Linked DNA regions of Homo sapiens: region 2 is linked to region 1. Evidence: promoter capture Hi-C in 16 types of primary human blood cells and fetal thymus (Javierre and others, 2016). All regions are on one chromosome and are shown on one strand. Each heading gives the region's core, a stretch centred on a gene start or on the middle of the fragment in contact. The rest is flanking DNA. Distances are from core to core; before and after follow the strand shown.

The links. The method cuts DNA at HindIII sites, captures the fragments that hold promoters and counts their contacts. A CHiCAGO score of 5 or more calls a contact.
Region 2: a contact is called between a fragment that was not itself captured here and the fragment with the promoter of UNC5A in region 1, in 1 of 17 cell types (endothelial precursors). The highest score is 5.1, in endothelial precursors.

What each region holds. Positions count from the first base shown.
Region 1 is chr5:176,808,564-176,812,858 of GRCh38, reverse strand. It overlaps UNC5A (unc-5 netrin receptor A), which reads right to left and starts at 2,300. Exons shown (of 15, transcript NM_133369.3): 1 at 2,039-2,300. The coding sequence starts at 2,108. The HindIII fragment of the contact is 10,823 bases long and covers 1-4,295 here.
Region 2 is chr5:176,749,443-176,753,737 of GRCh38, reverse strand. No RefSeq gene overlaps it. Among named protein-coding and RNA genes, the nearest start is that of LINC01574, 8.4 kb to the right of the region's middle. RefSeq lists an enhancer at 3,964-4,295. The HindIII fragment of the contact is 3,606 bases long and covers 401-4,006 here.

The DNA of each region.
Region 1 (4,295 bases), core at 1,051-3,550:
CTGTGGGGCACAGGGGGAAGGGAGTCCCAAAGAAGTAGGGCCAGCCCCTCCCCACCCCATGGCCTTCAGCAGCTCCTCCCGCAGGCCCAGGGGCAGAGTTGATGCCTTGGGGCAGGCTCTGCGTCAGCCCCTGCAGCACCTGTGCCCACCTGCCGACTCCCTGGGCAACCTTGGGCCAGGCCTCAACAGATGCCCTGCCAACCAGGGATGCAGTTTCCCCACCCCCACAGCCTCCTGAGGAGTCCCTGTGGCAACCCCCCGCTCCAGGCCGCAGCACCCTGCTTCACCGGTACCTGTGCCCCCTTATCTGTACACGCTCACCTGTGCAACTGCACACAGCCGTCACACACGTGCGGCATGCTGGTCATCACACACGTTCATCAGGGCACACACATGCCAATGCTGCACACACCATGCCAACCCCCCTGGTTACCCGGGCACACATGTCAACCCACAGCCTTCACACGTGCTCACGTGGGCGACATGCAGCTATGACCACACAGCCCTCAAAAGCATCAACTCAGAAAACATTTCCAGGGTACCTACTGGGTGTCAGGCAACACCCCACCTGTGTGTGGGGCACTAATATCCCCACCTCATCATGGACAACAGTGCAACCTGCACCCGGGTGCTCATCTGCGGAGCTGCACACACGCCCCTAACACACACATGTGGCGGACACGGACACACACCCAACAGCAGTTCAGCCTCTCAGCTTGGTCAGGATTAGAAGGAGAGGCCCTGGGGAAGAAGAGGGGTGCTGATGGAGAAGGGAGATAGAAGGGGTGGGATGGAGTAGAGAGGGGTACTGAGGAGGCAGGATGGGGCGGGCGGTCAGGCAGTGGTGGGTGCAGGATGCGCTGCGCAGAGACACCCTTTAAGGAAACAGCCATCGGCCTCAATCATCAGGCTGGCTCCTGAGCTCCCACTCATTGATCTCTGATCAATCTGGTTTGGCAGCTCAGAAACCCCAGTGCTCCCTTCCAACACCCCTGTTATAAGCAGCGGCCTGGCCAGGCTGGGGAGTAACCGCCCAGGTTCTAGGGGCAGCAAGAATCGAGAATTGCCAGGGTAAGCCTCAAGCCCCCTTGACCACACAAATGGCACCCACCCCCCACCACCACAGACACATACGCTCAACTCAGCTAAGTGCATGGGGGGCAGAGATCAGGAGGCCCCCACAGCTCAGCCTAGGTGAAGGCTCAGGGACAGCAGACAAAGGATGCAGGGGAACTTCCTCCCCCCAAGCCCCTCCCAAGGGAATGAGGTGGGCTGAGGGCTGAGTTAGCAGTGGGTTAGGGTGACCAATGGGGCATGCAGGGGCCAAGAAAGGCTATGGAGTTTAAGGAAGAAGGGGAAACTGGCGGACCAACCACACACAACTCTGGCCCCCCGCACCAGGGAGGCCAGGAGCCACAGCCCCGGCCACCGGGACCGCGGCGCTTTGACTGTGCTGGCTGCAAGGACTGGGGGCTGGTGTATGCGCCTCCACGCCTGAGTGTGTGCGTGTGAGAGCGTGTGTGGCGGGGACAGAGGAGGACACTGTGTTCTGGACGTGGGCAGAGGCCAGGTGCCAAGCTGGGAGATTGTGAGTGGCTGTTTAGGGCAGATGCTACCGGGAAGAGGTATCTTAAACGTTCCCCGCACCCCCCATTTCCTGGGCACTGGGATAGGCTCAAAACCCTCTAATCTTCGAATCCTCAAAGTCAGGCTCCCTGGGGTTGATCCAAACCCCCAGCCCTGCTCCGGGCCCAGGCAACCAGCAAACTTCCCCCACCCGGAGGCGTGGGGTGTCTACACTCGCCAGCCCCGCGGGCTGACAGCTGCTCCTGGACTTGGCAGAACCCAGGCTTCCGGGAGAGCGCGCGGGGAAGCTGCGCAGCAGCAAGAAGAGCCCCCCGCGTCCCGCCTCGCAAAGTTTGGCCTCGGGGGGCTCCCAGCCGGGTCTGGCAGCGCTGGTCAGGGACCCCCAGAGCAGCGAGCGTTCGCGCGCACGGTCCCCCGCAAGCCTCCCCAGAGCGCGCGCGGCGTGACTCACCCGAGCCGCGGAGCCAAGCGGCGAGGACTATGCCCAGGAGCGCTGGCCACAGGCCGGGCCGGACGGCCATGGCCGCGGGCGGGCAGGCGGGCGGGCCGGGCGCGGGGCCCCGCGGGCGGGAGGGCGGCTTTAGCGCCTCAGCCCGGAGCCCCAGCTCGGGGCGCCCCCGGGGCCCATGCCAGCGGACTGCGCTGCCTCCGGGCGGCCGGCTGCCGGGCGCACGCGGCGCGTGGCTCCCTTGGGCACGGGAGCGCAGCAATGCAGCCGGGGCGGAGCGCAGCGCCAGCCGCGCCGCGCACCGAGCCAGCCGCGCCGCGGAGCCCGCAGCCGGAGAGCGGGCCGGTGGGCGCCGCAAAACCCGGACTGGAGCGACGGAGCGGGGCGGCGGCTGGGAGGGGCGGGGGAAGGAAGGAGGGGCCGGGCCGCCCCGCGCAGCGCGCGCGGGCCACCCCCAGCACCGGGAATCCCTCTGGGCGATGCCTGAGGCTCCCCCAGGGAGGGGCTTGGGGTGGTGGGCGTGGAGGCCTCCCACCGCCCCGCGGGGTCTCCAGGGACAGGGGCAGGAGTCTGAAACCCGGAGTGGATCGGTGCTCCGGATCCGGGCTCTCGCGGGCCCGCCAGTCTGCGCACAGGTGGCCCGGGAGGGGCCCGGGGCTGCGGCGACCCCGGCGCGGCGCCAGCCTGCGGAGAGCCGCCCAGGGCAGGGGTGCCCCGGGCAGGTTCCGCTGCAGTCCTCTCCCCCGCCCTTTCCTCGCGGCCGCGCTCCGGGGTCGTCCGGGCGCCGCGGTACGCTGCCAGCCCGCGGCTTGGTTAGGGGACTGCGGGAGAGCCCCGGGGCCCTGGCCCGCGCGCAGAGGTGCCCTGGCCACCAGAGCTGGCAGGCCAGACTCGGGGACACCCGCAGTCCCAGCCTCGCAGGCTGGTGGATTCCAGGGGCGCGCCTCACACCATGACCCAAGGTTTCCCTAACCCCTCGGCGCCGTTCGCCGAAGGAAAACAACCTTCAGGCGCAGCACACCCGACTGGGCGCGCGGTGTTTGAGCCCCGAGAGCGCACGGCGCCCGCGACGTGGGTGTAAAGGAACGAGCTGGGCTTTGGCAGCTAGGGAGACCGGGGGTAGGGTCCAGGCGACTTCACCTTCCAGCTCTGTGACCTTGGTCAAGTCACGTCGTCTCCTGGAGCCTCCAGCAGTGACCGCTGCTGGAGTCTCCTGTGCCCCACCCCCATTCCCTAATCGGGTTAAAATAAACAGAGGGCTGCCTTGAAGGAGAAAGGAAATGACAGCCGCGTGCGGTGTGCCTGGGGGGAGTGATCGGAAAAAGAGAGGGTCCTAGTCTGGGTCGGGAGGGGAATGAGCAGGGTGAGGGCAGGGTCGCAAACTCAAACGCCTACGGGGCCGGTCGATAATATAAATTGGCGCTGCAGGCTAGGCGATGTAAGGGATGGTCTTGCTTCCACAAAGAGATATGAGCTCTCCTATATTTCTTGAGACACGAGGCCCTCTCTCGGTCTGTCTTTTGTTTCCCACTTTTGATAGAGAAGGGTTATGAAAAATGTTTTGCTTTCCTCTTAAGTCTACTATAAAAAACACCAGCTAAAGCTCCAGAGGCAACCATACAGACGCTGGGCTCCATCGCCAGGGAGGCAAAGGGCAGTGCTGGGGACAGGCACAAGGATCCCATCTCAAGGGGCAGCTGCCTTTTCTGCTCCAGGTGCTGGTTGTCGGGGGAGGGGACCGGGGCACAGTATAGCCGCATCTTCCAAATTTTCAACAGAAGCCGTCGTATGTGAAATATTCTGATTTAAAATTTTTAACTAGTAAAAAATAATTTTTTAGACTTCATGTGAGCCCAGGGGAAAGTGTTCACCACCTTCTGGTTTGGGAACTTTGCTTTCGGGGCAGTTTGAATGTACACGGTGTCAGGGCCTGATCAACTCACATGTCTCGTGTGTGTGTGTGTGTGTGTGTGTGTGTGTGTGTGTAGGAGCAGTGTGTGCCCAGGCTGCTCCTGTTGGCACCATAACACCCCTCTTCAGCCTCTGCAGGAAAGAGGTGGGTGGGAGAGGAGAGTCAGTGGCAGGATCTGCCCTTGGGGCCCACTGGGGATTGGGCACTGGAGGCTGGTGGCTGAGGATGAAGGAAGAGGATTGAGGGCTGGGGTATAAGATGACATTATAATAGTGTATGCTCTGTCTAAAGGGATGGCCGGGTGTGGTGGGTCACACCGTAATCCCAGCACTTTGGGAGGCTGAGGTG
Region 2 (4,295 bases), core at 954-3,453, 59 kb after region 1:
TTATCGTGAGCTACTGCACTTCAGCCTGGGCAACAGAGTGAGACCTTGTCTCTAAAAATATATACACATATATCCTTTTGTGTCTGGCTTCTCTCACTTAGCATAATGTTTTTGAGATTCATCTATATCTTGTTGCATCTATCAATAACTCATTTCATTGCTGAGTAGTATTCCATTATGTGAATATACCATACTTTGCTTATGAATTTACCATTTGATGGACATTTGAATTGTTTCCAGTTTTTGCCTATTATAATTAAAGTTGTCATTAGCAATCACATGCAAGTCTTTGTGTGAACACATCTTTTCTTCTAGAAGAATTGCTAAGTCATATGGCAAGTATATATTTAAGAAACTGCCAAACAGAATAGTGTCTTTTAAAGACTAAATATTTTAAGCTTAGTGAAGTCCATTTTATTATTTTTCTTGTATATGTCATTGTTTTTGTCATATTTAAGAAAACTTTACCAAACCCAAGATTGCTAAGATTTTCTTCTAGAAGTTTTATAGCTTTGCTTTTACATTTTGGTCTATGATCCATTTCAAGGACCATACATCTAATTTTTTAGGCCTACTTTATGAGGATCATAGACCCTAATTTCAAGGATCATAGACCATTTCAGTTTGTATACGGTGTGAGATAAGGTCAAGGTTTCTTTTAAATTTTATTTTTATCTTTTTACATATGTTTATCCAAGTGTTCTAGCATCAGTTGTTGAAAAGAATATCCTTTATTCATTAATTGCCTTGGTATCTTTTTCAAAAATCAACAGCTGTGGTCTGTTTCTTGAATCATTCTTCTGTTCCATTGATCTAGATGTCTATCTTTATACCAATACCACACTGTCTTGACTATTGTAGCTTTAATAATGTCTCGAAATAAGGTAGTGTAAATTCCCCATCTTATTCTTCTTTTTCAAAATGTTTGGTTATTCTAGATCATTCCATAGAGATTTTAGAATGAGCTTGTCAATCTCCACCAAAAAAAAAAAAAATTGTTTTTATAGATGAGTTTGGGAGAATCAACATCTTAACCACATTGAATCTTCCAATCCATGAACGCAATGTATTTCTGTATTTATATTTCCTTTAATTTCTCTCAGCAATGTTTTGAGTTTTATATGTGCAGATCTTACACATCTTCTGTCAAATTTATCACCCCCTTTTTTATTTTTAGAATTTCCATTTGATTCTTTTTTCTAATAGTTTCTAGTTCTCTGCTGAAATTCCCGTTCTTGTTATCTAGCTTCTTGAATATACTAATTACAGTTATTTCAAAGGCCAACTATGGTACCTCGAATATCTGAGACCACGTGGATATGTTTGTAATGTGTTATTTTTCTCTTGGTTTTCATCCCGTTCTTGTATTTCTGCATTTCTGTTTTTCACTGAATATCAGACATAATAAATGAACATGGAAAAGGTAATTTGAGGCTCTGGATGCTGTTATCCTCCTCCAGGGAGGATTTACTTTAACTTCTGCTAAGCCAGGGGCAGCATCAATCTTAAATTGCATTTATCCAACCAGGAATTAAGATGATTTGAAACAGGCCTGCAGTCCCTGAAAGGGCCGGTTTCGTTCTGGCTAACTTACTTCTAGGGTATAGTGCTTTGGGATCCCGGATGAAAGCCTAGGCTATTTACCAACGTTCTTGCTTTTAGAAAAATTGTTCTGAAATACACAGAACATAAGATTTACCATCTTAACCCTGTTTAAGTGTGTATGTCAGTGCATTAAGTACCTTCCCATTGTTGTGCAGCCATCAGCACCATCCATCTCCAGAACTCTTTCCATCATCCCCAAGTGAAACGCCACATCTATTAAACACTAACTCCTAATTCCACCTCCTTCAAGCCCCTGGCAACTACCATTCCACTTTCTGTCTCTATGAAGGTGATTACTCTGAATATCTCACGTAAGTGGAATCATGCAGTATTTGTCTTCATGCAACTGGCTGACTTCACTTAGCGTAACGTTGTCTAGGTTCATCCACATCGTACCGTGTGTCAGAACTTCCTTCCTTTTTAAAGCTGAGTAATGTTCCCTTGAGTGTATATGCCACATTTTGTTTATCCTTTTTCATCTGTCGATGGGCGCTTGAGTTGCTTCTGCCTTTAAGCTATTTTGTCGTGCTGTTCTGAATATGGGGATATAGATAGGGTCCTTATTTCTCAAGAGGCCCTGGATTCCAGTTTTTGTCTCCCCAGCCCCATGAGATGGCTAACGTGCTTCTCAGCCTCTCAGGCACTGCTCAGAAGTGGCAAACACTGCAGGGGACAGAGCTCTGCCGAACAGCAGGCTCCCCTCTGTGAGCTTCCCTCCTCTCTGGGATCTGGGATCTGGGACCCTTGGTGCCTCTCCAGTATCTTCAAACAGCTGTTTCTGTAGTATTTCATCCAGCCTTCCGAATTGCTCCCAGCAGGGTGATTGGTCTGATGCAGGCTAGTCCATCATAGCTAGAAGCAGATGTGTCAGTATAATTTTAACGTGTGTGTCTATTATGCCCGGAGTTGAGCATCTTTTCTGATGTTTAAATGATGTTTGTATTTTCTCTGAAATCCTTACCCCGTTTTTCGACTGGTTCTTTCTTATTGATTTGTAGGCATGTGTTATACGTCCAGGAATTTAGGCTGTTGTTTTTGATCTAAAAATTGCTTTCTAGGGCCAGTTCTCACTTGCTGTATAATCTTAGGCAAGTCCCCTTCTCCTCTGAGACTCAGTCTCCTCGTCTGTGAAATAGGGTGAGAATGCTTGATTCACCACATGGTCTCAAAGTTTCCTTTTGATCTGCAATTCATGGATTAGTGACCTTCTACTTTGTAGGTGAGACCAAAGAAAAAATTGTTATTGAGACCAAAAAACATCCTCATTGCACTCTCCCTCCACATTCCATTGCACATATTTATTGTACTCTGATTTCTGGCTGCCCACGGGCTTTAGAAACATTGATCACAGAAGGCAGGAGCAGGGAGCTCAGAGTGTGTGTGCTTTCATGCTGAGGACCACGGCTATGTGACAAAAAGCCACATCTCCCAAACTTTAGTCATTTGCATGATACACTCATGATTTTCGCTATACCCTTGTACCACACGCGGTATTATTTACTTATTTGTTTCAGTTCATTTAAATACCTAGTTTCTCCTTGTCTTGAATAAGAATGTTGGAGAAATCACAGGTTTGCTGTGCTAGAGTATTTTTTCTGATACAGAGGAACAGAAAGGATCAGCGATGATCACTTAAAGTGCTGTTTGCATGCTCCTCCATCCTCCATGAGCAGCCCTGGGGACAGGACCAAGGGCCTGCAGTGCTCCCGGCGAACCCACGGCCTCCGCTCAGCTGCTGGGAAACTTTGCTCAAGCATTATTCAAAGTTACTCATTATTGCTGGAGCATTCCGACTGATCCACATGCTCAGAAAGCTCTGGCTTTGTGGCTGAGGATTGTTTTTGTGCAGAAATGTTTGCTTCCTTGGATGAAAGGGGGCCTGAGATGGCCCCCAGACAGAAGAGAACTTTGCCGTAGCCACCACCGGAGGTCTCTGGAAAATTTTCCCCTTTTGGAGGCTGCAATCTGCGACGCAGAGCCTTTCTCCTTCCCCTTCTGAAGTTGGCTATTGCTTTTAGCCCAGAGCCATTGCAAGTCTCAGAGAGCAAAGATACTGTGGGAGCCCTAAAATAAATTCTAAAGTCCAAAATGGAACACATTTAAAGTGAGCTCTGGAGAGAAAAATGGATAACGCTTTAGAGCTGTTTTCACAAAAGAAATCACCCAACCAATACATCATTGGGCCCTTTTAACTATGGCATCTGGATAGATTTAATTTTGACTTTTGACGTGACCAATCAACTCATACATAATCTCCAAGCCAGATAGTAACTACCTTGCCACCTTCTCTGTTTAGGGGCAGACTTGTTTCTTCAGCAAATACCAACGAAGACCTACTGAGTGGCAGTTCTCTGCGGGGCCCTGGGCTGCCAGTGGTGAGATAAAGCACACACAGGAAGCTTCTGGTCTGGTGGACAAATTGACCTCGTTCTGGGAAACTCCAGCACATCTTTGAGATGCTTTGGGCGGCAGAGCTGAACACCACTGGCCTGGGAGTTTCTAGGAAAAGCTTCCCGGACCACAGGGGCTCAGTGTCTGTGCTGTCCTTTCCGGAACCTTTCCCTCCTCCAGCGAGCAACCTGGCCCCCCACACTCACTGCAGCTCACGCCCATCCACTGATAAACAGGCACAGTCTCACTCCAGGGGCAGGGGCCTTGAGCAAGGTGAATGTGGATCTGTTGAGCCACAC